7 separate regions of the Homo sapiens genome follow, and all the other regions are linked to region 1. The links are contacts of gene promoters, found by promoter capture Hi-C in blood cells and fetal thymus (Javierre and others, 2016). All regions are on one chromosome and are shown on one strand. Each heading gives the region's core, a stretch centred on a gene start or on the middle of the fragment in contact. The rest is flanking DNA. Distances are from core to core; before and after follow the strand shown. Region 1 holds the start of DISC1 (DISC1 scaffold protein). Region 2 overlaps EGLN1 (egl-9 family hypoxia inducible factor 1). Region 3 has its middle 15 kb from the start of EXOC8. Region 4 overlaps SPRTN (SprT-like N-terminal domain). Region 5 has its middle 35 kb from the start of EXOC8. Region 6 overlaps GNPAT (glyceronephosphate O-acyltransferase). Region 7 overlaps TRIM67 (tripartite motif containing 67).

Region 1 (4,182 bases), core at 1,224-3,723:
CTTTATAGAAAGGGTTTTGACAAGCAATGGGTAAAGAATTTCCTAAATGGTGATGGGATAACTGGCTAGTCATATGCAGAAGATTGAAACTGGACCTCTACCTTACAGTTTATACAAAGTTAACTAAAGATGTATTAAAGACTTAATTGTAAAACCCAAAACTATAAAATCCCTGCAAGACAACCTAGGCAATACCATTCAGGACATAGGCATGGGCAAAGATTTCACGACAAAGATGCCAAAAGCAAAAATTGACAACTGGGATCTAATTAAACTAAAGAGCTTCTGAACAGCAAAAGAAACTATCAACAGAGTAAACAGACAACCTACAGAATGGGAAAACAATTTTGCAAACTGTGATCTAACAAAGATCTAATATCCAGCATCTTATAAGGAACTTATATTTACAAGAAAAAACCAAACAACCCCATTAAAAAGTGAGCAAGGGACATGAACAGACACTTTTCAAAAGAAGACATATATGTGGACAACATTCATATAAAAAAAGCTCAACATCACTGATTATCAGATAAATGCAAATCAAAACCACAATGAAATACCACCTAACACCGGTCAGAATGGGTATTACTAAAAAGTCAAAAAATAACAGATGCTGGAGAAGTTGTGGAGAAAAAGGAACACTTTTACACTGTTGGTGGGAGTGTAAATTAGTTCAGCTATTGTGGAAGACAGTGTGGTGATTCCTCAAAGACCCAAAGACAGAAATATTGTTTGACCCAACAATCGTATGACTGGGTATACACCCAAAGGAATATAAATAATTCTATTATAAAGACACATGCACACACATGTTCACTGCAGCACTATTCACAACGGCAAATATATGGAATCAATCTAAATGCCCATCAATGATAGGCTGGATAAAAAAATATGGTACATATATACCATAGAATACTATGCAGCCATAAAAAAGAATGAGATCATGTCTTTTGCAGGGACATGGATGGAGCTGGAGGCCATTATTCTTAGCAAACTAACACAAGAACAGAAAACCAAACACTGCATGTTCTCACTTATAAGTGGGAGATAAATGATGAGAACACATGGACGCATAGAGGGGAACAGCACACACTGGTGCCTTTTGGAGGGCGGAGGGTAGGAGAAGGGCGAGGATCAAGAAAAACAACTAATGAGCACTAGGCTTAATACCTGGGTGACAAAATACTCTGTACAACAAACACCCATGACACAAGTTTACCTATGTAACAAACTGAACTTAAAAGTTAAAAAAAAAAAAGAGGTTCTTATTATGTTGCCCAGGCTGATCTCAAACTTCTGGACTCAAGTGAACTTCCACCTTGGCCTCCCAAAGTGCCTGGCCTTAGATATTCATACATTTATTTATTTTTAGAGATGTGGTGGGGGTGTGGGGGGTCTCTCTCTGTCACCTGGGCTGGAGTGCAGTGGCCCCATCATAGCTCACTGAAGCCTTGAACTCCTGGACTCAAGCAATCCTCCCACCTAAGCCTGCCGAGTAGCTGGGACTACAGGAGTGCACTACCATGCCGGGCAAACACACTGATTTTAAGTACAACTGTGTGCTTTCAGTCTTAAGATCTTCAGCTTTTGAAGGACCTCAGCCTTCCTCTAGTTCTAACTCCTCTCGTTCTAAGGAGATCCTTCCCATTCCTGCAGAACGTCTCCCCAACCCTTCTTCTTCACAGTTCTCCCTCCTATCCCTGAACCATTGCAAGAGGTTTTGTGCCAAGCCTCTGGCACATGGCACATTCTATCTCATGTTGTGATTTCGTTTTCTATGCACGTGCTCTCCTTCTAGCCTGGAGGTGAGCTGCTTAAGGGCAAAGAGCTCATGTGTAGCCCTTCCTTGTACCCATTGTCCTATAGCAGGTGCTACCTAGGGGGTGCTCCAGTAGCTTCCTTGAATGAACCAAAGAGAAGGGGTGAAGGGGGGAGTCAGTTGCCTAGGAGCTTGCATGGACTTCTGTGTCCTGGAACCAGCCCGGAGCTGCTGGAAGATGCTAGAAGTTGGAATCCTATCTCATTTCTAAACATCTGCTCCCACTCATCTCTTTCCAGGGTCATCAGTTATCCCCACTCCTCCCCCCCGCCCCCACTTTGTATAAATGAGCCCCTCACATCCCTCCATCTTCTCCATCACTGTGTGGTCACTTCTTAAATCATGCGTCTGGAAGGCGCCCTCCTGTACCCCATCCTGGAGGCTTCCTGCACTTCCCCTCTTGTTTCTTCCAGAAATGAGTCAGAGTGAAAGCAAACTTTCTGAGGTCCTGAGATCCCGGAGACAGGCTGTGAGGGCCGCTGGCCCCGCCCGCTCCAGCAGCGTGTGTGTGTATGTCTGTGTGTGTGTGTGTGCGCGCGCGCGCGCGCGTCAGGGGCCAATGCTGGAAAGGAAACAGCGGACTCGCTGAGGAGAAGAAAGGAGCCGCCCCCTTCGTCGCCAGCCCCCTCCCCACTTCCCGTCCAGCGCGCTGCTCCCTTCCCCCCGCCTCTGGCCTCGGGGAAGGAGCAGGAGGCAGCCCAGGCGGAGCGGGAGGAGCTGGCAGCGGGGCGCATGCCAGGCGGGGGTCCTCAGGGCGCCCCAGCCGCCGCCGGCGGCGGCGGCGTGAGCCACCGCGCAGGTAGGGGAGCTGCCACAGAGTCCTAGCACGTCCTGGGGGGGTCCTGGCAAGGAGGGCGCGCTCTGGCCCCCAGGAAGTCGCGTAGGTCAGGGCGTGCCTCTGTTAACAACCCCTTTCGAGGTGAGGGAAACTGAGGCAGGACGCGAGGCGTGCGAGGTTGAGAGAAGAGCGAGTCTTGGGCTGCCAGCCCGGCACCAGCGCCGAGCCGGGCCAGGTCCCTGACCCAGGACTGTGCAGCGATCCCCGGGACCCGCAGTTTGCGAAACTGTAGGAGTCTGACCCGCGCCCCCGCTGCGTGTCCAGGTGACCGGGAAAGGTTGCAGAGGCGTGCTTGGGGTTTGGATCCGTCCCCGTCCTGGGACACCTGCGCCGCCTGCACTCTCGTTGCGGTGCGCCCCAGCCTGCGCCCCCTCGGGACAGGGGACGTCCCGCCCGCCTTAACCCCAAGACCCAGCTGGATCTCGGGTTCCACCCCTTCGGGGACCTGGAGGGAGGAGGCTGGGAGCGGGACCAGGAACTGGTGCCTGTGCCTTCCCTAGGGGCTGCTCTGAAATCAGTGTCACCGCCCACTTCCTACTTGGCTACAGTAACGGGGATGGCCCAAGCCGGAGACTGCTCGGTTTCCACCGCCTGGAGCGCGGGTCTCGCTGTCAACTCTTAGTGATGATTGTGGATGGTTGTTTTTCAACAATGACAGGACTTCTACCTTCTCACTCTTAAAATGTGAGGTTTTCCAAAGACAGTGAGATTTGGAGTTAGGGAGTGCTGCCTTGTGTTCTTGCTGGGTGAGGACAGGGCTGGGTCAGTCGCTTAACCTCTCAGAGCCTCAGTCTCCTGAAATGTAAAGGAGAACACTCATAGCCTGGCCTCCATGTGTCGTTAGGTTTGTTGTATGGGAAATCAATTTGCAAAGTGTTATCATCAACTGGACAAATTTGAATTGGACAGCACTAGGACCATAGGAACTGGGGTTTGGAGACAGTCTGCCTGCATGTCAATCCTGGACATGCAGGAGACTATGACAGTACCTGCTTCATAGGGTTGTTATGCGGTTTAACTGTGATGGTGGAAGTGAAGCACCTCGCCCAATGCCTGAAATACCCAGTGCACTCTCAAAAAACCTTAGTTGCTATTTTTCCTAGGCAAAATCTAAATAATTGGGAGTAATGTGAGAATACCAGTTTGATTTGATTAATGCAGGAATAGTAGGGCATTTAAAAACACATGTAGTTCTCCTGTGCTCGGCATGGTACATGAAGTCCTCTGAGGTTCAGTTCTGTGCCACAGAGCAAAAAGAACCGTGGACAAGATACCCGCTTTTCGGGCTCTTTGACTTTGAGCCTGTTTTCTCATCTGTTTACAAAAAAGATAAAAGAAAAATGGGGGTAGTAATTACTGCCTTTTGTACTGATCGCATTGCCTGAGGATTAAATGAGGCAAAAGATCTGAAAGCACCTTGTGGAGTATGAGTCACTATGCACATATAAGACATGATAGTACTAGGAGGGAATGGTAACATCTGCAGGTTTTTAGAACTTACAATGTGCCAGACATTTTATTATGA
Region 2 (3,919 bases), core at 875-3,374, 260 kb before region 1:
AAGGAGTGCCAGAAAGAGAGAACAGAGAATGGATGGAGAAAATTTAAATGTCCCAAAATGGTGGGGTGATTTTACAGTCTGCATTCCTAGCACAGAGGTTGACAAGTGGCACACATTAAAGCACACTATAAAACTATGGCGCCCTGGGGATAAGAATATTCTATGAGCTTCCACAAAGAAAAAGATTACATATAAAGAATCAGAAATAAGAATGGCTTCAGATTTCTCAGTATCTACACACTGGAACCTAGAACCAGTGAGGCAATGCTTTCAAAATTCTGGAACATGATTTCCAAAGTTACCAATGAAATGTGGTGGTAAAACAAAGATATTGGTCTCAGAAAATTTACCATCCATACATTTCTACAGGAAGTATTAGAGGGCATGCTCCATTCAGTAAACCAAGAAAGATGAAGACATGGGATCCAGGAAACAGGAGAGCTGACCGAAGAGTGGTGAAGGAAATCTCTAGAACACAGGTGAAGGGAGACCCAAGAAAGACAGCTGTGCCCCAGGCGTTAAGAGCAACCAGTCCAGATTGGTGCAAGTTAGAAGCCACAGGGAACAAACGAAAAATCAAGACATTAAGGGAAAAAGTAAGTTGTGGAAGAAAAGTCAAGTCAACATGATTTCCTGTATGTCTCAGCTTTGACTAGCACAGCCATAACAGGAACACGAACCTGATCTCGGTTACAGCATAGGAACAGAAGGAAGACCAGGGGAGATGGATGTCTGCTTGCCTATGTGTGGTAGAGATGGTGGAGGAACCTTGGAGAGAGATCTGCCGTGTGGAGAAGTTAGGAGAAAATGCCTAACACTGAAAAAAATCAAGAGGCAGCAATCCAATTATATTATTTAAACTAATGGGTGGGGAGATATCCAAAGAATCATTTAAAACAGTTGACACTTGTTTTCTCAGGGGAAGAATGTGAGGGACTACTTTTTTTTTTTTAATTAAGAATTTTTAAAGGCAATACTTTTTTTTTTTTTTTTTTTTTGAGACAGAGTCTCATTCTGTTGCCCAGGCTGGAGTGCAATGGCAAAGACTCACCGCAACCTCTGCCTCCCAGGTTCAAGTGATTCTCCTGCCTCAGCCTCCTGAGTAGCTGGGACTACAGGTGTGTGTCACCACACCCAGCTAATTTTTGTATTTTTGGTAGAGACTGTGTTTCACCATGTTGGCCAGGCTGGTCTCGAACTCCTGCCTCAAGTGATCTGCCCGCCTTGGCCTCCCAAAGTGCTGGGATTACAGGCTGAGCACCGTGACCAGCTGGGACTACTGTTTTTCTTAACAACCACAGACAAGTTGATTTAGCCACTCGAACAAAACTAAACAAGGAAAGCTCACACTCAATTCCTGGCTCTCTACCACTTACAAGCTTTGTGACTGTGAGCAAGTCACTTCTCTGATCCTGTTTTAATTACAAATGGAGACAAAATTTGCTTTGCCTACACTTTGCATGTACTAGGGAAAAAAAATGTAAAGGTATTTTGTAGAAGACATTTGGAATAATTTTGGCAGAAAACATCCTAATCTCAATGAAGGCCCTATCTAGTAACTTTCTGACCCCAATGACATCTTGTTCAGAGCAAAAATTATCAATAATTTTTGACAACTGTTTAGTAATTATTCAATAAAAAGAGCTTTAGCTACTTGCAGCTGTTTAGGCTCTCCCCATCTTGTGAAGTGGCTGACATTTAGTGTGTTCTACTTATGAAACTATTTCCAGCTCATGAGGCCATGCCCTTCACACATCTCATTGGTCCCATTGGTCCCATGGTACATACTTGAGCATCGCCATGGTTCAGATAAAATTCAAACCAAAAACATAATCTGAGGGATAAATTCATGACCTGAGAAGTCTAAACAATTATCTTTTGAAGCAATGGAGACTAGTTACTTCTGAATATTTATAAACTAATTGAAAAAATCCAACATACAATTATGTTATTAGATATGACATAAATATGTATCATTGCAGTTCATACCCAAATACAGCTCTCTTTCTTGGATCACATGCACTTTTGCACTTTGGGAAAATAATCTGATGAAGTGCCTTGCACCAGTGACTTAATTTAAATCTAAGCTATAAAATAAGACCTGTCATTAATAAGACAACACTCCTGCTTCCAAATGATTCACATTTACAACTGATAAAACCGTTAGCTATTCAAAGCTCATTGCCCCAATTTTCTCTCTCTGCAATTATGCTATCATATTGTTAAAGGAAAGGGCAATAATCCTCGTTGAAGGCCTACTTTGTTCCATGCATTGTAAGGTACTTTGCACACTGTATTTCATTTAGGTCTCATACAACTGTTTAAGGTGGAAGATGTGCTTTTTGTATATAAAAAAGCACATCTCAAACTTCATCTCAAACTCATTTGCCCTTTACTTCAATCCACCCAGCTATATTTTAGTGTAATTCCCAAATGTTCTAAGAAACGCTGGAAAATAACAAAACACTGTGGAAAATTTTTCTTTAAATAACAGATATATAAACAGGTATTTTGATCTCACCTTAATAAGAGCTCTCATATTTTAGTTATGACCACACAAATTAAACCTTCTTGCATATACACAATGGTACATCTATGACAATTAGAGATAAATGCCTAACCCCACTTCCTTTTGCAGCAGAGGGGTGATACAGATCTGTCAACAGCTATGAATGTTAAAATAATTTTAAAAATCCTACTAAAAGGGCAAGAATTCAAGTGCTGAGAATCCAAACAGACTTCATGGATCCCACAGACAGTCCAATGACCCCAGGGATGTTTCTAAAATTGTTGAACTCCTATGTTTACTGTTCTCTTTCCTTCATTATCATTTACAAAAAGTTATAACAAATGTCCTAGACTAAGCCAGAAAAGCTTTATCTGATGAAAGGGATCATTCGGAAAGCCAATGTATGATAAAGGATTGAAAAACAAAAAAGACAGCTGGAAATAACCACCATAATGTTTCAACAACATTTATACATCTTTTTAATTAGATTAGCTTTACAAGCAACTTGAGAGCTCTTTCATAATGAAACACTGCTTTTCAAATTACATGACTTTATAGTCTATCTGTATATGAATCCTGAAAATCTTTGCCTACTCTTGATAAAGGTCTGTGTTTTACAGCTGGTTAATGTGTTGAATAAAAACAGCATTATGAAGCTTTATCTTTAACCAGGATTAAACACATATAGGCCACAAACAGTTTTAAATTTTGTTTGAAATAGAGTCCTGCTTGGTGACAAGTTAATAGTCCCACTAACATGAAATGAATGGATATTAAATAAATGGCCATCCTGATTTCTTGATCTTTTCACAATGATTCCTAAGAGAGTATATAAACTTTTCCAAAAAATATACAATTTAAGACCTGTCTGGCAAGCACAACCCACAGATAGTAGAATCTAATACTTTTTACAACTGTAGAGGTACACATTTGAATGACAACAGGGGCTCCCAAATTAAAAGGCTGTGGCTGTACATTTTGACAATCAAACAAACCTCCCATCAACATAAAACAATTTCTACTAACCCTAAAAAAGATAATGCTTTTGAGTTGTGGCCTAACGCCGCGCACTGTACTATAGACCAGATGGCAAAGACAACTTGCGCTCCTGGGTTGGGCTGGCAGAGGCACTTACTGTAGAGATGTGATGTTATCATCTGGAAGGAAGGGGAGGAAGTAGAACAAAACTGAATATGGGCGAGGAAAAAACAATAAACTATCACTTTCTCCTGCAAATTCTCCTAAGTGAGATCACTATACTGAACATTCAATCCCATCCTAAGTCCACTGTTGGCTTCACTACACAATTTTTTTCCATGTTTTACATGAATAGCAATGGCAATCTTTTAATAAAAATTACTGAGCTTCCCATAGAAAAGGTCTCAAATTGAATACAAACTATACAGATGC
Region 3 (4,407 bases), core at 1,264-3,763, 300 kb before region 1:
ATTTCATTTTTACTTTGGGATTGACTGGATAATTTTTACTGTTTCATTTTCCCCCATCTATTAACTGATTAATTAAACATTTTTAACAGCTTTATTAAGATATAATTTATATACTTACAATTACCTGGATTTTATTTTTTTATTTTTGCCTTTTTAATAATTTCAACTTTTATTTTAGATTCATGGGGTCCATGTGTAGGTTTGTTACCTGGGTATATTTCATGATGCTGAGGTCTGGGGTATGATTGCTCTTGTCACCCAGGTAGTAAGTATAGTACCCAATAGCTAGTTTTTCAGTGCTTGGCTCCTCCCATCCTTCCCCCTCTAGTAGTCCCCAGTGTCTGTTGCTGCCATCTTTCTGTCCATGAGTACCCAGTGTTTAGCTGCCACTTATAAGTGAGAACATACAGTATGTGATTTTCTGTTCCTGCATTAATTTGCTTAGGATAATGGCTTCCAGCTGCATCCATGTTGCTGCAAAGGACATGATTTCATCTTTTTTTAATGGCTGCAACCTGTTTAAAGTATACAATCAACAGGTTTTGTTATTTTACACTATTAATATATATATATTTTTAATTAGAGACGGGGTTTCACCATGTTGCCCAGGCAGGTCGCGAACTCCTGAGCTCAAGCAATCCACCCACCCCAGCCTCCCAAAGTGCTAGGATTACAGGTATGAGCCACTGTGCTCAGCCCAATTTTTTTCGATTGTGGTAAAATATACATAAAATTTTCCATTTTACGCATTTTTAAATTGTGACATTAATTACATTCACGGTGTTGTACAACCATCACCATTATCTACTTTCAAAACTTTTTCATCATCCCAACAGAAACTCTGTAACAATTAAACAATAACTTCCCATCTAGCTAACTTCCCCCGTCCCCCTGCTAACTTTTTTTTTTTTTTTTTGAGACGAAGTCTTGCTCTGTAGCCCAGGCTGGAGTGCAGTGACGGGATCTCGGCTCACTGCAAGCTCTGCCTCCCGGGTTCACGCTGTTCTCCTGCCTCAGCCTCCCGAGTAGCTGGGACTACAAGTGCCCGCCACCACGCCCGGCTAATTTTTTTTGTATTTTTAGTAGAGACGTGGTTTCACCGTGTTAGCCAGGATGGTCTCGGTCTCCTGACCTCGTGATCCGCCTGCCTCGGCCTCCCAAAGTGCTGGGATTACAGGTGTGAGCCACCGTGCCTGGCCATCCCCTGCTAACTTTTAATCTACTTTCTGTCTGTATGGATTTGCCTATTGTAGAAATTTCATATAAGTGGAATCACACAATATTTGTGCTTTTGTGTTTGGTTTACGTTTTGTTTTTTTTGTTGTTGTTTTTTTTTTTGAGATGGAGTCTCACTCTGCTGCCCAGGCTGGAGTGCAATGTTGCTCACCGCAACCTATGCCTCCCAGGTTCAAGTGATTCTGCTGCCTCGCCCTCCTGAGTAGCTGGGATTACAGGTGCCCACCATCATGCCCAGCTAATTTTTTTGTATTTTTAGTAGAGATGGAGTTTCGCTATGTTGGTCAGGCTGGTCTAGAACTCCTGACCTCAAGTGATCCTCCCACCTTGGCCTCCCAAAGTGCTGGGATTACAGGCGTGAGCCACTGCACCTGGCCTGGTTTACTTCTGTTAGCATTATGTTTTTAATGTTTATTCATGTTTTATTGTATGTCTTTTTATGTTTTTTATGAAACAAAACTACATTTTGTTTCTCCATTCATCTGTTAATGGACACAAGTTGTTTCTACCTTTTGGGTATTACAAATAATGGTGCATGAACACTGCTATATCTGTAGTTAAACATTAAAAAAAAAAATTGGCTAGAGTGGTGGTTCATGCCTGTAATCCCAGTACTTTGAGAGGCTGAGGTGGGCAGATCACTTGAGGTCAGGAGTTCAAGACCAACTTGGACAACATGGTGAAACCCCATCTCTACTAAAAATACAAAAATGTGCCAGGAATGGTGGCGCATGCCTGTAATCCCGGCTACTCAGGAGGCTGAGGCAGGAGAATTGCTTGAAGCCCTGAGGTGGAGGTTGCAGTGAGCCAAGATGGCGCCACTGCACTCCAGCCTGGGTGACGGAGTGAGACTTTGTTTCAAACAAACATTCTGTTAGTAATTCCCCTAGAGATTACAATGTGAACCTTGACTTATTAGAGTATAAATAAGTAGTTTACCTCTTCACAGGCAATGCAAGAACTTAAATCACTTGAATTTTATGTACTTCTCTCCTGACTTATATGTTTTTGTTTTTATTATTTTCTTTTTTAAATTTAATTTTATTTTTAAAGACAACATCTCATTTTGTCACCCAGGTTGGAGTGCAGTGGTGAGGTAGACCACCAGAGGCACTAGCAATCCCAAATTCCCTTGATGTCTCTCTAAAATAATAATTGGTTGCAGTTGGCCCCAGGGAACAGGTGTCTACCACTAGACACAAACACCTGAAACTGATCAGCAGCTTCCCGATAAGATCTCAGGGGTAGGGCAGGTTGGCTCAAGCATGCACCCGAAAAGGAAAAATGGCAGAGTTTAACTGGTATATGACCTTCTAGGGGCATCCCACTGGTAAGGGAAGAATGCCTCAAGGGAGCATGTATACAGCCCCAGTGAACACACTGCGCATGCTCACCTCCCCAGTGCTAGAGGCCACTGCACATGCAGGCAGCCCACTCCAAGGGAACAATCGGGAGAAGGGACGCAAGACCCAGGAAGCATGCCAATGAATAAAACCCCAAGTCAAAAGGTCAGACGGTGCTCTTGATCTCTCAAGTCGTGTCTTTGGCCCTTTTCCAAGCATACTTTACTTCCCTTCCTGCTCTAAAGCATTTTAATAAACGTTCACTCCTGCTCTAAAACTGGCCTCAGTCTCTCCTCCTGCCTTATGTCCCGCAGTCAACTTCTTTTTGTCTGAGGAGGCAAGAATTGAGGTTGCTGCAGACTCATATGGATTTGCCATGGGGAACAAGACCCCACAGGTTAAGGGTTTCAATCCCATAAGACTGCCCCCACTTCAGATGCAGGTCACAAGTCCTGGGGTGTCCCAAAGCCACGTACACTTTTGCCCATCAGGGTATAAATTTGGGGCTTCCCATGACACTCCCTCTCCCTCTCCAAGGTTTGATAATTTCCTAGAATGACTCAAAGAACACAGGAAAGTGCTATATTTATAGCTACAGCTTTTATTGTAAAAGATACAACTCAGGAACAATCAAGTGGAGCATGCATAGGGTAAGATCTGGAGGGGGTGGGGGAAACAGGAGACTGTCCCTGTGGAGTCCAGGTGTGCCATCCTCCCAGTACATCAATATGTTCACCAACCAGGAAGCGACCCAATCCTCGATGTACAGTTCTTATTGAGGTTTCATTACATTGGCATGCTTGATTAAATCATTAGGCAAGTGATAAAATTCAACCTACAGTTTCTCCATCTCTTCTGTGGTGGTGGGGGGAAGCGGGGCAGGAAATTAACATTCCACTTCCATGATTATATGGTCAATTTTCTGGTGACCAGCCCCAATCCTGAAGATATCTAGGGGCCCAAATAGGAGTCACCTTATTAGCATAACAAAAACATCATTCAGGAAATGCCAAGGTTTTTTGAAGTTCTATGCCAGAAACCAAGAAAAAAGACCAGATATATTTTTTATTCTACTGCAGCCTTCAGATATATTCTTTGCATATATAATGTGTAAAGTAGTTCTAATTGTTCTCAGGGAAGGATTGGTCAGAAATGCCTAGGCCACCATAACCAGAAGCAAAATTCTCTTGCTAATCAATAAATCATATTAAATGAAAAAAGAAACAGCAAGAGAAAGAAGAGAATAAGAGAATGAAACACTGGAACAATAAAAAAGTGAATGAAACTGTAGGTAAAAAGAAAATAAACCATGAAGTGAGAAATGATTCTTTTAAAAGGAGAGAAAATGACAGCGGTGGAACAGTACTCTTGAGGCAAAGGTAAAACATTCAACATTTTTCATGATTACAGTTCTGCACCTTGCAAACTTCACTTTCCGCCTCTTTGAGGTCCCATCTTCCTTCGCAACCTAGGTAAGCCATCCAGTGAAATGTTTTTTGGCGATGGCAATGTTCTAAATCTGTGCTGTGCAGTATGGTAGTCACTAGCCACAGGTGGCTACTGGGCACTTGAAATGGGACTAGTGTAACTGAGGAGCTGCATTTAAACTTTCCATTTAATTGATAATTAACTTAAAATTTTTAAAATTGCACGTGGCTTCCATGTTGACAGTGCAATCTTAGAGGTTTCATCTTGTGACACAAGTTAGGAGCTTCTGAAGAAAGAACAGAGCCTCCACCACACCCAAATTCCCATAGCACCTTTCCCAGCTTAACACCACATAGCAAGGGCTGGAACTCTAGAATTGCAGAAATGTGACTAACATTTC
Region 4 (4,237 bases), core at 404-2,903, 290 kb before region 1:
TAATCCCGACACTTTGGGAGGCCGAGGCGGGCGGATCACGAGGTCAGAAGATCAAAAACATCCTAGCCAACACGGTGAAACCCCGTCTCTACAAAAAAAAAAATACAGAAAATTAGCCGGGCGTGGTGGCCGGCGCCTGTAGTCCCAGCTACTCGGGAGGCTGAGGCAGGAGAATGGCATGAACTGAGGAGGCGGAGCTTGCAATGAGCCGAGATCGCGCCACTGCACTCCAGCCTGGGTGACAGAGCAAGACTCTGTCTCAAAAAAATAAAAGCCTTCTAGGTATATTATCTGTTTTGATTTTACAACAGCCCTGTTTATGTTCATGTGTTGCTGTTTTCATTTTTATGAGTAAAGAAATTAAGGTTCAGAGAGGTTAAGTAACTGGCTTAAGTTACTTATTTAGAAACAGAGAAAACAGGATCCACATGTTCCTGTTGAGAAACACAAATTTTGATTCTCCTCAGTTGGGCTGCAACACTGCTGTGCTCTCAGGACACCTAGCTGAGCTGGCAGCACAAACCAGTGTGAGGGCACGCTTCACATTTAGAGCTGGTACTTACTTCTGCTAGCAGAATGGAGCAGTGGGAGCTGAGGCAGGAGGATCTCTTGAACCCGGGAGGCGGAGGTTGCAGTGAGCCGAGACCGTACCATTGCATTCCAGCCTGGGCAACAAGAGCGAAACTCTGTCTCAAAAAAAAAAAGAAAGAATTATCTGTACAAAAGAGCACAGTGGTAGTTTCTGAGCATGGGGTGGGAAGCATGTTAAAACATGCTTGGAGATGAGAGATGCTGTTTTTAAGGATAATAAAAGGCAATGGATTACATAACAGTGTGAATATACTCAACACTGAACTGTACACATAAAAATGGGTAAGTTGGGGAATTTTGTTAATTTTTTTTACCACAGTTTGTTTAAAAAGTAGCTACTAAATGTAAAGTGGTACAGTAGAAATACTTGATTAATGAAAAAGAACAGAGCTCAGATGATAAAGAGAAAGGTAGGTGTAAACAAAATATCAGTTAAATGTAAGTGGACTAAACACTCCATTAAATACATGGAATGGCATGCTAGATTAAAAGAGACATGCTTACAGTAAAGACACACTTATTTTAAGTTTAAAAGGATGAGGAAAAGTAATCATCCAAACACTTAAAAGCAGAAAACTATTGTGGCTATAAGGTTGAGTACTCATTATCCAAAGTGGGACCAGAAGTGTTTCAGATTTTTTTTTTTTTTACTTTGGAATATTTGCATTATACTTACTGGTTGAGCTTCCCTAATCCAAAAGTCCCAAATCTGAAATGGCTTTAGTGAGCATTTCCTTAGAACTTAACCTTTAATCATCTTGTAAGTGCTCAAAAAGTTTTAGATTTTGGAGCATTTCAGATTTTGGATTGTCAAATTAGGGATGTTCAACCAGTATTAGTATCAGACTAAAGACTTCAAGGGAAGAAGTTTTACTAGAGGAAAAGTGGGATATTTTATAATAATAAAATAATCTATTAAGCAACAATACATAATCTCTCCAAAAGTAATAACATAACTTTAAATTTTATGAGGCATAAATTAGCAGAAGCAAAAAGAATATACAATCAGGCTGGGTGCGGTGGCTCACGCCCATAATCCCAGCACTTTGGGAAGCTGAGACAGGCGGATCACTTGAGGCCAGGAGTTTGAGACCAGCCTGACCAACATGGTGAAACCCCGTCTCTACTAAAAATACAAAAATTAGCTGCGTGTGGTGACACAGCCTGTAGTACCAGCTACTCAGGAGGCTGACGCACAAGAATCGCATGAACTCGGGAGGTGGAGGTTACAGTGAGCCGAGATCACACCACAGCACTACAGCCTGGGGTGACAGAGCAAGACCCTGTCTCACTACAGCCTCAACCTCCCAGGCCCAAGCAATCCTCCCGCCTCAGCCTCCCAAAGTGCTGGGATTACAGGTGTCAGCCAAGACACCCAGACTCATACTTGAAGAATGTTAACACAACCTTCTTAGTAACCCAATGAATAAGCGGAAAAAAATAATACACATTTTAAAAAGTTGAACAGCATGATTAACCAAATCAGCCTTAGAAGGAGCCCTAACTGGAAGAGTTGCTTAATGAATATGTATTGGGTAAATGATTACATAAACACATGAGAAAAAAATGTTTTTAAGTAGTGGGTGAGAAGAGAATGGGGAATGTATAATAGTATCAAGTGAGCATTTCCTGTTGGCAGAAAGTTACAAAATGACATTTTCGTCAATGACAGGCCCCATATATAACAGTGGTCCCATAAGATTATAAGACCATATTTTTATTTATTTATTTATTTTTATTTTTTGTTTTTTGAGATGGAGTTTTGCTCTTGTTGCCCAGGCTGGAGTGCAATGATATGATCTCGGCTCACTGCAGCCTCCGCCTCCCTGGTTCAAGGGATCCTCCTACCTCAGCCTCCCAAGTAGCTGCGATTAAAGGTGTGCGCCACCACGCCTGGCTGATTTTTGTATTTTTAGTAGAGGCGGGGTTTCACCATGTTGGCTGGTCTCAAACTCCTGACCCCAGGTGATCCTTCTGCCTCAGCCTCCCAAAGTGAATGGGATTACAGGTATGAGCCACCATGCCCGGCCAGGACTATATTTATTTATTTTTTTTTTGAGATGGAGTCTCGCTCTGTTGCCCAGGCTGGAGTACAGTGGCGCATCTCCACTCACTGCAAGCTCCGCCTCCCGGGTTCAGGCCATTCTCCTGCGTCAGCCTCCCACATAGCTGGGACTACAGGCACCCGCCACCATGCCAGGCCAATTTTTTGTATTTTTTTTACTAGAGACGGGGTTTCATCATGTTAGCCAGGATGGTCTCAATCTCCTGACCTCGTGATCCGCCCGACTCAGCCTCCCAAAGTGCTGGGATTACAGGCGTGAGCCACCACACCTGGCCAAGACTATATTTTTATTGTACCTTTTTTCTTCTTTATATTTAGTTGCACAAATACTTACCATTATGTTGCACTTGCCTACAGCATTCAGTACAGTAACATCCTGTGCAGGTTCGTTGCCTAGGAGCGGCAGGCTATACTCTATAGCCTAGGTATATATACTCTATAGCCTAGGTATATACACTCTATAGCCTAGGTATATATACTCTATAGCCTAGGTATATATACCCTATAGCCTAGGTATATATACTCTATAGCCTAGGTATATATACTCTATAGCCTAGGTGTGTGTATATATATATATATATTACATAGGCTATACCATTTAGGTTTGTGTAAGTACACTCTTAAGATGTTTGCACAATGACAAAATTGCCTAACAATGGATTTTTCAGAACATATCCCTGCCAAGTGAGGCACAACTGTAGTTACCTAAATCATAGAGAAGGGGGTTCAGAAAAGGAACAGACTTTATCTGGTTGAGGAGGTCAAGAAAAGCTTTATAACTGTACATTTTGTTACTACCATCACCACTCCTGCTGCTCACTATTGAGCACCTATTGTGTGTCAGACTTTGGACTAAACGTCGTCTTTACCACAGCCATGCAAAATGAGGATATCCCATTTTAGGGATGAGGAGCCACTTGGAGCCTGTCCCAGGTCTCATGCTGTGATTGTGGGTTTAGGTTCCAGTTTCCCTGACTCTAAGGCTCTTGTTCTGTCCCCTTTACCATTCAACTCATCACTCCTGCGATTAAAACATGGAGAGGTGAGCATTAAAGGACGAATTGTACTTTTGACAAGCAGAGATAGGACAGGAGGCTACTCTTGGCAGAAAGCATGGGAATAATGTGAACAAAAGTGAGTTCAGACAACTGGGGGCATATTTAGGACTAGAGGTAGTTCATTTTAACCCGATAGAACAGTCATGGAAAACAGAGGTATTTTGGGACTGTGTTGTGTATAGATCCTTGAATTAAGACTAAATATGGAAAATGATAGATATTTAAAAAGTTCAGTACCATTTTCAAGATGTTTTTTAATGTTTAATTAAATTGAACCAAAAATCAGGAACCTAAATTTGTTTCTCCTTTATGAGAATAGATCTTTATCATTGCTCTAATTTAGAACATTGAGAAACTTTTGCAGTACCTTTCTTGAATTTGAGTCTTCTTCGTTGAGCGGCATTTACTTGAAAAATAAAGTTCTGGCTGGGTACAGTGGCTCATGCACGTAATCAGATAGATGGATTGCTTGAGCCCAGGAGTTGACCTGTCTGGGTAAGATGGTGAGACCTTGTCTCTACAA
Region 5 (4,243 bases), core at 1,393-3,892, 320 kb before region 1:
ACCTAGTATTAGTTTCCTGTCATTATTTAGCTGGCTTGGCAACTTGGCATTAATCCTACTGGGAATTTATCCTTTGATTTACCAGCCTGGGGTTACCCAAATAGTCTTTTCTTTGGCTAAATTTAAGTGCCTGGTTTTAATGATCTGGCCTTACTCACCAGACTGTATTAACCTCGTTGCCTTAATTACCTTACCCTCATGGCATTATTAAACAACCTTCATCCATGTGGCCCTATGAAACTCCTGGCCTTACTGACCCAGGCTTAATTTCCTGGCCTGACTAATGGTCTTGACCTTATCTACCTGGCCATAACTTCTCGCCATTATCCACCTGTTCTTACCCACCTGGCTTTAATTCGCTGGCCTCAGTCTGCTGTCAAGACCTACCTGGTCTTGCCCATGGCACCTTACTACCCTTTCTTTACTCCCTGGCCTTACCTACTTCATTTTCTCACCCTTGCCAGAACCCATTAGCTTTCCACACCTGGCCTAAACCTATGGGCCTTAACCTTATAGTCTCAGCAACCTGGATTACCTACCTAGTTTTCCTACCTAGTCTTACTCATCATGGGTTTCATGCTTAGTTTACACAGCTGTCCTTAACCTTCTAGTTTTATTTACCAGGGCTTAGTCCCCAGTCTTATTTTTCTAATTTACCTCCCTAGGTTTCCTCCCCTGGACTTATTTCCCTGCCCTTATTACCAAGATTTCCCCCCCCACCTGGACTTAACACACCTTACATTTCCCACTTGGACTTCCCCATCTGGCCTTAACCTCATGGCCTCAATAGCTTACCAACCTGGCCTTCTCACCTGGTCTTAGCCTTTCATTCTTAGTCACATGGCCTCAACCTCCTAGCCTAATCTGCCTAGCATTAACTTCTCAGCCTTACCCAGTTGGAGTTATCCACCTAGCTGTACTTGATGGCCTTAATTTTACTGGCTTTACCCATCTGGCTTTTTCAATCGCTTGGCTTCCTGACCCAGTGTTAACATCATGGTTTTGCCAAAATAAATTTACCCACCTGCATTATTAACCTCCTGACCTTACTCATTCAGCATTAATCTGCTGGCCTTATGCACCTGGTTTACCCACCTGGCCTTACCCTACTGGCCTTAACTTCATGTCCTTACCAACCCGAATCACCCAACTGATTTTATCTACCCAGCCTTACCCATTTGGCCTTCACAATTAGTCCCAACTTCTGGTCTTGCTCACATCTCACAGCCCTACTGGCCTTAACCTGGTGGCATTATGCCTAGTCCTGACCCATGACCTTACTTTCCCGGACCTCACCTATTGACCTTCCCATGTGGCCTTATTTATCTGGCCTTACCCACTAGGCCTTCCCCACCTGACCTTATTAACTTTAGGGCCATACTCACCTGCTCTCTTCACCCACTTGGCCTCAGCCATCATGACTTAATCTGTTGGCCTCATACCCTTCTGGTGTTGACTACCTGGTTTTATTCAGTTGGCCTTCACCTCCTCGCCTTCCCACACTGTCTTACACAACTAGCATTAGCCTTGGGTCATCGTTTGTCTGGCTAGGAGAATTGCCCTTAATCCTACTGGGTGTTTCCCCCATCGATTTCCCGGCCTGAGAAAAGTCTTTTTATTTGGCTGGTTTTAAACACCTGGTTTTAACAACCTGACTGCACTCGGCAGAACTTATTAAGCTCCTTGGCTTCATCATTTTATCTTATCCTCGTGGTATTACAAACCTGGCATTATCTGTCTTTATTAACCTCCTGGCCATACTCACCAAGTCTTAATTTCCTGGCCAAAAAGTCCTTCCCTTACCCGCTTGGCCATAACTTCCCGCTCACCATTATTCACCTGTTCTTACCCACCTGGATTTAATTTCCTGGCCTCAATCTCTGGTCAAGACCCATCCCGCCTGATCTTGCCCATGAGGCCATACTCAGCTGCCTAACTTACTCCCTGGCTTTATCCACCACATTTTACATCCCTGGTCAGATCCCATTAGCCTTCCCCACCTGGCCTAACCCTATGGGCCTTAACCTCATGGCCCTAAAAACTTGGATTAGCCACGTAGTTTTCCCACCTCGTCTTACCAACCATACATGACCCACATGGGCTCCACACTTGGTTAACACAACTGTCCTTAGCCTTCTGGTTTTACCTACCAGGACTTAACCCCCTGGATTTACCTCCCTAGGTTTACTTTCCTGGTCTTATCCCCCTGCTTTTACTCCCTAGATTTACCCCCAACTGCATGACCTCATCCCCACATTTTGACACCTTGCATTACCCACCTGGCCTTAATTTCATGGCCTTACCAACCTGGATGACCAACATAGCTTACCAACCTGGCCTTCCTGCCTTGTTTTAAGCTTTTGTTTTTACTCTCATGGCCTTAACCTCCTGGCCTAATCTGCCTAGCTTTAACCTCTTAGCATTATCCAGGTGGAGTTAGCCACCTAGCTCTATTCAGGGAGGCCTTAACTTACTGGCTTTAGCCACCCAGCCTTTTCAATTGTTTAGCTTCCTAACCATCTTAACCTCATGGTTTTGCTAACTGAGATTTACCCACCTCCCTTATGAACCTCCTGGCCTTACTCATCCAGTATGAATCTCCTGGCCTTATGTACCTAGCATACTCACCTGACCTTACCCTACTGGCATTAATGTCCTGTCCTTACCAATCTGAATCACCCAACTGATCTTACCTCCTCAGCCTTACCCACTTACCTAAGCCTTACCTTACCCATTAATTTGCCTTAACAATTAGTCTCAATGTTCGATTCTTCCTTCCTCAATTGCCCCAGCCCTACTGGTCTTAACCTGGTGTCATATCCTCTGTCCCAAACCTTGGCTTTCCTTTCCTGGCCTTCACCTGGTGGCATTCCCACATGGCCTTATTTACCTGGCCTTACCCACTAGGCCTTCCCCACCTGACCTTATTAAGCTTAGGGCCATACTCATCTGCCCTCTTCACCTGCTTGGCCTCAGCCAGCATGGGTTAATCTGCTGGCCTTATACCCTTCTAGTATTGACCAACTGGTTTTATTCAGCTGGTCTTCACCTCCTCACTTTCCCCACACTGTCTTACCTACCTAGCATTAGCCTTGGGTCATCATTTGTCTGATTTGGCGACTTGCCCTTAATCCTACAGGGTGTTTCTTCCGTTGATTTCCGAGCGTGGGTCTTTTATTCAGCGGGATTTAAACACTTGTGTTTTTTTGTTTTTTGTTGTTTTTTGTTTTGAGATGGAGTTTCGCTCTTGTTGCCCAGGCTGGAGTGCAATGGGGCAATCTCGGCTCACCACAACCTCTGCCTCCCCACAACCTCCGCCTCCCGGGTTCAAACGATTCTCCTGCATCAGCCTCCCAAGTAGCTGGGATTTACGCATGTGCCATCATGCCTGGCTAATTTTGTATCTTTAGTAGAGATGGGGTTTCTTCATGTTGGTCAGGCTGGTCTCAAACTCCCGACCTCAGGTGATCCACCTGCCTCGGCCTCCCGAAGTGCTGCGATTATAGGTGTGAGCCACCACGCCTGGCTTAAACACCTGGTTTTAACAACCTGACTGCACTCAGCAGAACTTATTAAGCTCTTTGGCTTCATCACTCATCTTATCCTCATGCTATTACAAACCTGGCATTATCTATCTGGCTTTATTAACCTCCTGGCCATACTCACCGAGTCTTAATTTCATGGCCTAAAAGTTCTGCCCCTACACACCTGGCCAGAACTTCCCGCTCGCCATTATCCACCTGTTCTTACCCATCTAGCTTCAATTTGCTGGCCTTGATCTCTGGTCAAGACCCACGTGATCTTGCCCATGAGGCCTTACTCCACTGCCGTTACTCCCTGTCCTTGCCCACCTTGTTTTACAGCCCTGGCCATGCTCCATTAGCCTTTCTCACCTGGCCTAAACCTATGGGCCTTAACCTCATGGCCCTAACAACCTGGATTAGCCACCCAGCTTTCCCATCTAGTCTCAACAACCATACATGACCCACATGGCCTTCACACTTGGTTTACACAACTGTCCTTAGCCTTCTGGTTTTATCTACCAGGACTTAAACCACTGGATTTACCTCCCTAGGTTTACTTCCCTGGACTTATCCCCCCTTGCCCTTATTCCCCAGATTTACCACTGCTCCCTCACCCCATCCCCCAGACTTAGACACCCCCCATTAGCCACCTGGACTTACCCACCTGGCCTTAACTTTATGGCCTTACCCACCTAGATGACCGATATAGCTTACTAACC
Region 6 (3,871 bases), core at 1-2,500, 350 kb before region 1:
CCATTAACCTAGATGAGGGGGTACATGTATTCAGATGGGCACTATACCCATTAACCTAGATGAACATTATGGCTTCCTCTTCCCTTCTAGGACTTTGAAGAAGGCTGTTACCTGCTTTGTAAAAGTGAAGCCATACAAGTGACTACGAAAGACATCCTAGTTACAGAGAAAGGAAATACTGTGTTAGAATTTTTAGTAGGACTCTTTAAACCTTTTGTGGAAAGCTATCAGGTATGTAAATTTGGCAAGTTCTCCTTCATGCCCCCCATATCAAATATAATAAGACATTCTCACCCTGTGCTTATTTCCAGTCTGAAGGGCAGGTATCTTCCCCAGGCAAATGGAAGAAGGAGAGAGAGTGACTAATACGATCAGTGATTTCACCTCACCAGTGAGACCTTGCTCCCCGCATTCAGGAGGAAGCTTGGTTCATTACAGACCCAAGAGGACAACAGCTTAGTGATGCCATGGTCACAGTATTCACAGGACCACAGTTACACCCACGCATCATCTGTCATACTGTGTCTCATGTCTTAATGAGGCCTTCATGTCAGTCAATATGTAACCTCGAGGTTTGATATATATCAGGCACTCAGTAAAGGCAAGACTTGAGTGATACATAAAGTCAGTTACAGATTACCAGATGTTTATGTTGGAAAGAAAAAGTTCAAGTGCAAGTTCTGAAAGCGTTTGTCAGAGCTCTTGGGAGTAGTTAGAGAGATGGGATGGTATGTTGCCCAGCAGGAATTGTGGCAGGACTCAACGGGAGAGAAAGAGTCTGAAACATAAACTGTAGGAAGGACTTCCACATGCTTGAGAGAAGAGGATGCTGTGACTCGGCTCTGTTCATATAATACATGCACTGGCTCTGGGCACCTGGACCCACTTCCTGGTGCTTGTGGTCCGTGAAATAACTCATTCAGCCTCCTTGCACAAAGTCTAGCACTTACTGAGCATTTGATAAATGCTAGTTCTACCCTTAATCACTGTTCTACAGTAGAAATCATCAAGTATTTTAGGGCATGGTACTTTCTTAGGTGTATTTAGAGAAAAAAAGCAAAGTTATTAAAATCTGACCCCTCTCTTCCCAAGTAGCATAAGAGATACGAAGCTGATGGTAATTAACTTGTACCCCTTGAAGTGAGAAATTATACTTTAATAAATGTCATTATTATTTTAAATCTTTTTCTAATTGTAAAATGTAAACTCAAAGGAGATGCCCTAAAAATTCTTTGGTTTTTCTGGGCTCATTCCTTGGAGGGTCTTTATGCTGCTCTCTTGTGATATATCCTTCTCTTAAGAGGGGCAATGTAAAGTTATTTACTATTCTGTTGAACTTGGCTATCCTTTTTCTCTTTCTGTTCCCCTCATCCTTCCTCTTAAAATCAGATAATTTGCAAGTACCTTTTGAGTGAAGAAGAGGACCACTTCAGTGAGGAACAGTACTTGGCTGCAGTCAGAAAATTCACAAGTCAGCTTCTCGATCAAGGTCAGTCACTGCTCTGTGGGTGCTGATTTCTTTTAGTTGAGAATAGAAACTGGTCAACTAACTCTTCCTCACCCCCAATTTTAGGTACCTCTCAATGTTATGATGTATTATCTTCTGATGTGCAGAAAAACGCCTTAGCAGCCTGTGTGAGGCTCGGAGTAGTGGAGAAGAAGAAGATGTAAGTACTGTACAAGATCCCATGAGTGCTCAAGGAACAAGGAAATGAATGACATTTGAGCTCAAAATCCAGAGAGACATAGAAATGGATGATCTAGGAAATGCTATATTCTACTTTCCTTATCCATCCTCTAATTAGTTAAGTCAGTGTGAGTTATCCTGAAAATTGTATGTGGTTATGAATAGAAATGCAACTGAAGCAAAGAAAGGAAGAAATAACTTTAGGCCAATATTTTTGCTTTGACTTAATGTTGAAATTTATAATTACAAGAAAGATTTTCGGGAGTGTAGTGGGCATATGAGTGTAGACACACATAAATACACACATAATACATATATAGATACATACCTGTATATGTATATATAAACATATAGATGTATGTTCTTCTAAGTGGTTGAATTTAACAGTGATAAAGCTTAATAGTAAACTCTGGCAGTCATGTCTCTTATGTGGTCAGAAGAATGAAGCAAGAAGCCAGGAGGTGGGACAGGAGCCTGAGGCCTTTCGACTACTTAGGCCCAGCCTTGAGGAAGGCAATTGAAAAGTAGTCTTACAATAGCTACGTCAGGAACAAAATATAAAAGTTGTCTTTTCCCCAGAGTTTATGTAATAATAAAGCTTATTATTTTCTCCTAGAAATAATAACTGTATATTTAATGTGAATGAACCTGCCACAACCAAATTAGAAGAAATGCTTGGTAAGTGCAGTTTAATAAAATACAAGTTTTCACATTTTGTTGATGAATTAAAATAAGAAAGTATACTGTGGCACCAAATACTTTATCAAAATGATCAGTAAGTAGTAGAGTTCTAACATAAAAGGGAATTACTTATGCAGTCTGGAATTTTCTCAAGGAAGCTAACGAGAAAGCACAAAGAAAATTAACAAAACACAGCAGGCATAAAAGAAGCAGTCTTACACAGTAGAAAGAGTCAGTCCCTAACATGACTGGTCTCAGCCAGAGGCCCAGACCCTTCACATCCTTGCCTCAGAGAGAGTACCTCATCTCCACTCTTTGTTTGATGCTCTCACTGTCTGTCTTGCATTGCTTCTTTCCCAAGTGAGAGATTAGTGTCAGTGTCTCTATCATGTAGACTTTCTGAACTCAGAATTAGGGCTGATAGCACATCCTTGGGAGAATAATCCAACCCTTACTCTTCTCTAGAGCCTATCAGCTATGAAGAAATAGTCTAGTCCAAAAAGAGTCCTTGAGTGTTGTCTTCCTTGACATAAGAGTCCTTGAGTGTTGACATAAACAGAGGTACAATCAGAGGGGGTCAAGAACACTTTTCCTAGCAATGATGCGGCCATTTTAGAAAGGAGGGTGTTAACATTTGGAAAAAATAATCTGCTGATTATATTGAATGGCGTGATGTCCTTGAGTGGATCGTCTTCCAAGTACTGTTTTTGTACCTAATCTTAATTCAGTACCTCGTCAAACCTGCATGGAAGAGCTTTAGATAAATGTCTGTTGGGATTTGCGGAAGACCAGAATGGGGCATACGGAAAAGGAGAATGGATGAAGAAAAGGGTAGAAGGGCAGTGGGGTAGTTGTTGCATATCGGGAAGGCGGAAGTACTAGACCTTGTAGAAAAAAATATGTAGGTCGAAATCCCAGTCTTCTATTTATATCGTGTCTGAAGAGGTGCATATACCTAAAACAACCACAAACACCTCGCCCTGTGAGGGTGACGGAATCAATTACTTAATCACGGAAAGCAGATGTGATGTGAGCGTGAACATACTGGACTGGAGTTCAGAAAACATGACGGGGTTCAACTCCTGGCCCTGGCCCTGTGGCTCTGGCCATGCTGTCACCTCTTGGAGCATCTACCGCTTCCCTTGTGGAGGGGGCTGGCGTCCCCATGGGTACTGGCCAGCCTGTGAAGCTCTGCACAAGTCTCCAGCTTCTCCCCTGGACAGTCGCCCAAGGAACAGCTGTATGAGGAAGGGCAAAATCAGCATCATTTCATGAGCTGCTTCTCTTTTTTCATCTTAGGTTGTAAGACACCAATAGGAAAACCAGCCACTGCAAAACTTTAATAATCAACAAATAGTTATGGAAAATTCGGTCACGTAATTACTCTCATCGAAGGACTCATTACAACAAACAGGGAAGTAAAGGAAGAGACACATCCTCTCATACTCCCTGAGACTCTGAGAACAGTGGACGCAGAGGGAAGAGATGATCATTGGAAGCAAT
Region 7 (3,839 bases), core at 345-2,844, 410 kb before region 1:
AACCCACAAAAGCAGGATATGCAAATCATGGGTGCAACCTGGCAGCGTGGAGTGTCATAGAAACACATTTTCTTGGGGACGCAGGGAATGGGTCCACGGGCCATGCTCACAGCTGCCACTGTCAGTGGCAAAGGAAGGTACGTGTGTCACCCTTATTCCACCCAGACATTACGAACACTCCCCAAGAAGGACCTTTCTCAAGGGAGTCAGCATTCGGGCTTCATGTCTATGTTTCCTGCCATCTGTTTTCAAAGCTTGTCTTTTTTTGGAGGGAGAGGAAGGTAGACTTTGAGACTGGCCTCCTGAGAGCGGCAGTCAGGAGCTGCGCTGTAATCCCACGCCCCGGGTGTTGGCCCTCCGTGGGGACCTTGCCTCCTCAGAGTCCCGAGATTGCAGATTCTCATCATGCTGAGAAAGTTATCTTTTAGCTTCTTGGTCCTAGAGTCTTTAGTAGCACCTGCCACTTGCAGACCCAATGCAGGATTGATAGAAAGGGACATTAATCATTCATGCTTGACTTTTGCCTCTCTCACTGAAGTGTTAGAACCTTTTAAAATGGCTTCCTTTATTAATCAGCCAATTGTGTTCTCTCTCTCTCTTCCTCCATCCTTCATTTCTTCTCCCTCCCTCCTTCTCTTTCTCTCTTCTTCTCTCTCTCCTTCCTTCCCTCCTTTGCTCTCTCTTTCTTCCTTTCCTCCTTCTCTCTTACTTTCCTCCATCCCTGCCTCTTTCTTCCCTCTTTCGCTCTCTTTCCCTCCCTCCTTCTCTCTCTCTCTCACACACACACAGGCATGACAGTCTCCTAAAATTAATTCACTCAGTTCTTAGTTCTTAAATCCACGTGAAAACACAAGAATTTTAACAACTATGTCATAGGTCTTCGCCTGGTGATGGCTCCTTTCTGAAACTGGCAGCCCAAGAAGTTAACTGAAAATGCATCCAGATTGCTCTTCTGAGCTGAACCACTCTCAGACTCATAAGCATTTAAAATGGGAGACCCTGGGAAAGCCTGTTCTAGTCAGTCCACCCTATTGTCATTATGAAAGCATCATGAACACAAGTGGCCCCTGTGGCAGGCCGGGACGGCTCTGCCCTGATGCAGTGGGCGGGATCTCTGGGGAAGGCAGGAAATAGAAGGGCAGTATCAGGTACCTTGTCTCCCAGCTTCCCACTGTGAGACTGGGTGTGCCGAGTCTGACCTGCCAGGGCAGGACTCTGGAAACACCAGGCTTCTCCCTTGAGATCCACATTGATTCATCCACACCTCTCAGAGACAGCTCATGGCAGGGGTTTTGAGCCTGCCAGGCTCTTGTTCCCAGGGAACCCTTCCTCTCCTCCCTCCTCTCATCTTCCCAGTCACCTGCCACCTCCAGCTCCACCTGGTAGTAACATTTCTCTCTCCTTTTAAAAAGAATATATTTTGTCAAGCATTTTATTTCTGAGGCTGAGAAGTGACTTGTCAATTTGCTGGACTGGATTTTTATAAAATTCGCCCATTCACCAGCACCAACTGTGCGTCCTTGGTTCTGCCTTCCTGTTCAGACACCGCGCCTGCTTTCTGAGTAACTGCCTGCCGGAGCCATGCAGGTACCCCCCCTCCACTCAGCAGGCCCGACAATCCTACCTCAAAGCTCATGCTCTTGGTCTGCAAGGCTGCTTGGTCCGCTGTCTCTGCAGATGTGGCCGGCAAGGCCAGCTGCCCCGTCTCCAGGAGCTGCTCGGTGCTGTGTTGCAGTCTCTGCTGCGGAGCCTGGGAGCTATCTGCTTCATGGAAGTCTAGGTCTTGCCTCTTCCTTGTCATCTCACCAAGCGGTTTCTGGGTCTCCTCCTCCCATCCCAGAGCCCTGTCCAGAGCTCTTGGTGGTGACACACAAGACCTGGGACCCTGTGTCCTTGCCCGCACCTCTGCCTCTGTCTCCCATATCCCTGCAGCTTCATCCTTAGCCATAGCTCTGGGTGGCCTTTGCTTGGAGCATGGAGACGATCCCTAAAGATTGAGGATGAAGAGGAGCCACCACTTTCCTGGGGCCAAGGAAGCCATCAGCTTTGGGAAGTGTCTAGCTCTCTTCTGAAAAAAAAACAGGCCTACACCCTGCCCCCAGAATGAGAGTGGGCTAGGCAGGGCTGCCTGGTGACAGCAGCTTCTCACAGGGGAGCCCTGGGGAAGGCTGTGGAGCCTCCACCATCACCACAGCCCAGGTCACCAGGTGGCCCCAGCTCTGCAGAAGAATCGCCCATCATTGGAGCACAAGTTGCCTGGGGCTACCCTGAACCTAACCCCTTTGAGGGAGCAGCATCCAGGTCAGGAGAGAAGTGGAAAGTGCAGGAGGGTAATGCCCTCAAATCCGGTGGCCTCTTTCAGAAAAAAGTTCCCTGAAGTCCAGAGAGGTGCAGCCAGGACTCCCTCCTCCCCACTGCCACCCTGAGCTTGGGGGCTGGGATTCTCCCTTTTCTGACTCCTCCAGGAGCCCAGAAGCAATACGGCCGATGCCAGGGACAGCATCCAGCTCTCCTTCACAGACACCTCTCCTGTCTTCAGCACAAAACACCTTCAATGTTCTGACTTCAAAGAGAACGACAGGTCCGTGCCACACACTTGTGTTTTTGAGGGATCAGAAAAGTGAAGAAGGAACTTATCAATTCCTCATGGCCAGGAAGGTCCCGGGTTTCAGAGTAGAAATGACAGACAGGTCATGGAATTCTCATCCACCATCGAATTCCATAACACGTTACATCATGGTGGCACATTTGTACATACATATAAATGATATCAAGATGAGGCTTTTGTTGGGCTGGCTGAGGAGTAACTTGGTGTAAATCTATCAAGCAGTTTCAGTGAAAAAGGAATTCAAAGTAGTTTAAAAATGTCGAGTTCCATTGCATTGTAAATAGTGCCTCTGTAATGTGGTTCTGCAGTTGTTCTTTGCTAGTGAGCAAGCTTGGTCAAAGTGTATGCCTTTTCCTTTTAAAATTAATCTCTTCCGAAAATATCCACTAGCACCTCACTGCATACATAGCATCCCAGCTCCTAATTCAAAGCAGGGGAAGGTATTTCCCCAAAGCCTGCTTTTCCTCTCTCTGTTCTCCTTGGGAAAATAATGATTCCAATTAAAGAGGACACCAGTAATACTGACCCACAAGGTAACTGACCTAAACACTATAAAACTGTATATATTTCCAGGCTGCATCTTCAGCCTGATATGTACTTTGTAGTTGCAACAGCGCCCTAGGTGCCCTATGGCCCACCAAGTTTGAGGAGGGTGGTGCTTTCCGGATTGAGCCTGGGCAGGCTCTGTGGAGCTCACCAAGAGAGCTGGGGGCAGGCCCACCCTCCTCTTTGCGCCCTTTCTCTCCCTCTTGGTGCCCCTGCCCTCCGCCCCACCACAGCACTCTCAGGAAAGGATCAGAATGCAGGATCTTTGTGTATTTCTTCCAGGGATATTTGCATTTAAGCCTTAATTCTCATTGCAAGCGAAAGGCTTGGTCCCCCTGGGAAGGCGGGTTTCGGCACCGGTGGGCAGGTGGTTCAGTGTCAAGGAGGCTGCTGCTGGTCCCATGGCCACCTGCTGGCTTTGAGGTAGTGAGGGAGGGTCAATCCTTAGGGGGAGTCAACATGTGAATGCTAAAGAACACTGCTGCACAGCCCGTGGGGTGGCGCCAGGGTTTCTCAACCTCTACTGACATTTTGCGATAGGTTCTGTATGCCGTAGGATGTTTAGCAACATCCCTGGTCTCTACCCATCATCTGCCAGTAGCAACCCCCAAGTTAGGTGTGACAACCAAAAGTATCTGTCGACATTGCTAGGTATCTCCTGGGGGCCTCCACAAGTTGAGAACCA

What was found. The method cuts DNA at HindIII sites, captures the fragments that hold promoters and counts their contacts. A CHiCAGO score of 5 or more calls a contact.
Region 2: a contact is called between a fragment that was not itself captured here and the fragment with the promoter of DISC1 in region 1, in 12 of 17 cell types (neutrophils, monocytes, total CD8 T cells and 9 more). The highest score is 8.8, in neutrophils.
Region 3: a contact is called between a fragment that was not itself captured here and the fragment with the promoter of DISC1 in region 1, in 2 of 17 cell types (neutrophils and non-activated CD4 T cells). The highest score is 10.6, in neutrophils.
Region 4: a fragment that was not itself captured here is called in contact with the fragment with the promoter of DISC1 in region 1 in 8 of 17 cell types (total CD8 T cells, naive CD4 T cells, activated CD4 T cells and 5 more); the score reaches 7.8 in total CD8 T cells.
Region 5: a fragment that was not itself captured here is called in contact with the fragment with the promoter of DISC1 in region 1 in 1 of 17 cell types (activated CD4 T cells); the score reaches 5.3 in activated CD4 T cells.
Region 6: a fragment that was not itself captured here is called in contact with the fragment with the promoter of DISC1 in region 1 in 1 of 17 cell types (activated CD4 T cells); the score reaches 5.6 in activated CD4 T cells.
Region 7: a fragment that was not itself captured here is called in contact with the fragment with the promoter of DISC1 in region 1 in 1 of 17 cell types (neutrophils); the score reaches 5.6 in neutrophils.

The regions. Positions count from the first base shown.
Region 1 is chr1:231,624,317-231,628,498 of GRCh38, forward strand. It overlaps DISC1 (DISC1 scaffold protein), which reads left to right and starts at 2,474. Exons shown (of 13, transcript NM_018662.3): 1 at 2,474-2,618. The coding sequence starts at 2,552. The region is part of intron 5 of TSNAX-DISC1 (TSNAX-DISC1 readthrough (NMD candidate)); the gene reads left to right. RefSeq lists silencers at 2,370-2,629, 2,960-3,019, 3,993-4,182. The HindIII fragment of the contact is 7,020 bases long and covers 1-4,182 here.
Region 2 is chr1:231,360,792-231,364,710 of GRCh38, forward strand. EGLN1 (egl-9 family hypoxia inducible factor 1) reads right to left here. Exons shown (of 5, transcript NM_022051.3): 5 at 2,965-3,919. LOC107985360 (a long non-coding RNA gene) reads left to right here. Exons shown (of 2, transcript XR_001738520.3): 1 at 1-596. Among named protein-coding and RNA genes, the nearest start is that of SPRTN, 24 kb to the left of the region's middle. The HindIII fragment of the contact is 1,495 bases long and covers 1,378-2,872 here.
Region 3 is chr1:231,320,743-231,325,149 of GRCh38, forward strand. No RefSeq gene overlaps it. Among named protein-coding and RNA genes, the nearest start is that of EXOC8, 15 kb to the right of the region's middle. The HindIII fragment of the contact is 9,707 bases long and covers 1-4,407 here.
Region 4 is chr1:231,340,106-231,344,342 of GRCh38, forward strand. The region is part of intron 2 of SPRTN (SprT-like N-terminal domain); the gene reads left to right. Among named protein-coding and RNA genes, the nearest start is that of SPRTN, 3.9 kb to the left of the region's middle. The HindIII fragment of the contact is 3,543 bases long and covers 1-3,425 here.
Region 5 is chr1:231,300,825-231,305,067 of GRCh38, forward strand. No RefSeq gene overlaps it. Among named protein-coding and RNA genes, the nearest start is that of EXOC8, 35 kb to the right of the region's middle. The HindIII fragment of the contact is 575 bases long and covers 2,356-2,930 here.
Region 6 is chr1:231,273,832-231,277,702 of GRCh38, forward strand. GNPAT (glyceronephosphate O-acyltransferase) reads left to right here. Exons shown (of 16, transcript NM_014236.4): 12 at 91-231; 13 at 1,390-1,489; 14 at 1,574-1,667; 15 at 2,304-2,365; 16 at 3,668-3,871. The coding sequence ends at 3,711. Among named protein-coding and RNA genes, the nearest start is that of GNPAT, 35 kb to the left of the region's middle. The HindIII fragment of the contact is 1,659 bases long and covers 422-2,080 here.
Region 7 is chr1:231,215,519-231,219,357 of GRCh38, forward strand. It overlaps TRIM67 (tripartite motif containing 67), which reads left to right. Exons shown (of 10, transcript NM_001004342.5): 10 at 1-3,839. Among named protein-coding and RNA genes, the nearest start is that of FSAF1, 24 kb to the right of the region's middle. RefSeq lists a silencer at 1,068-1,127 and an enhancer at 1,659-2,158. The HindIII fragment of the contact is 2,684 bases long and covers 253-2,936 here.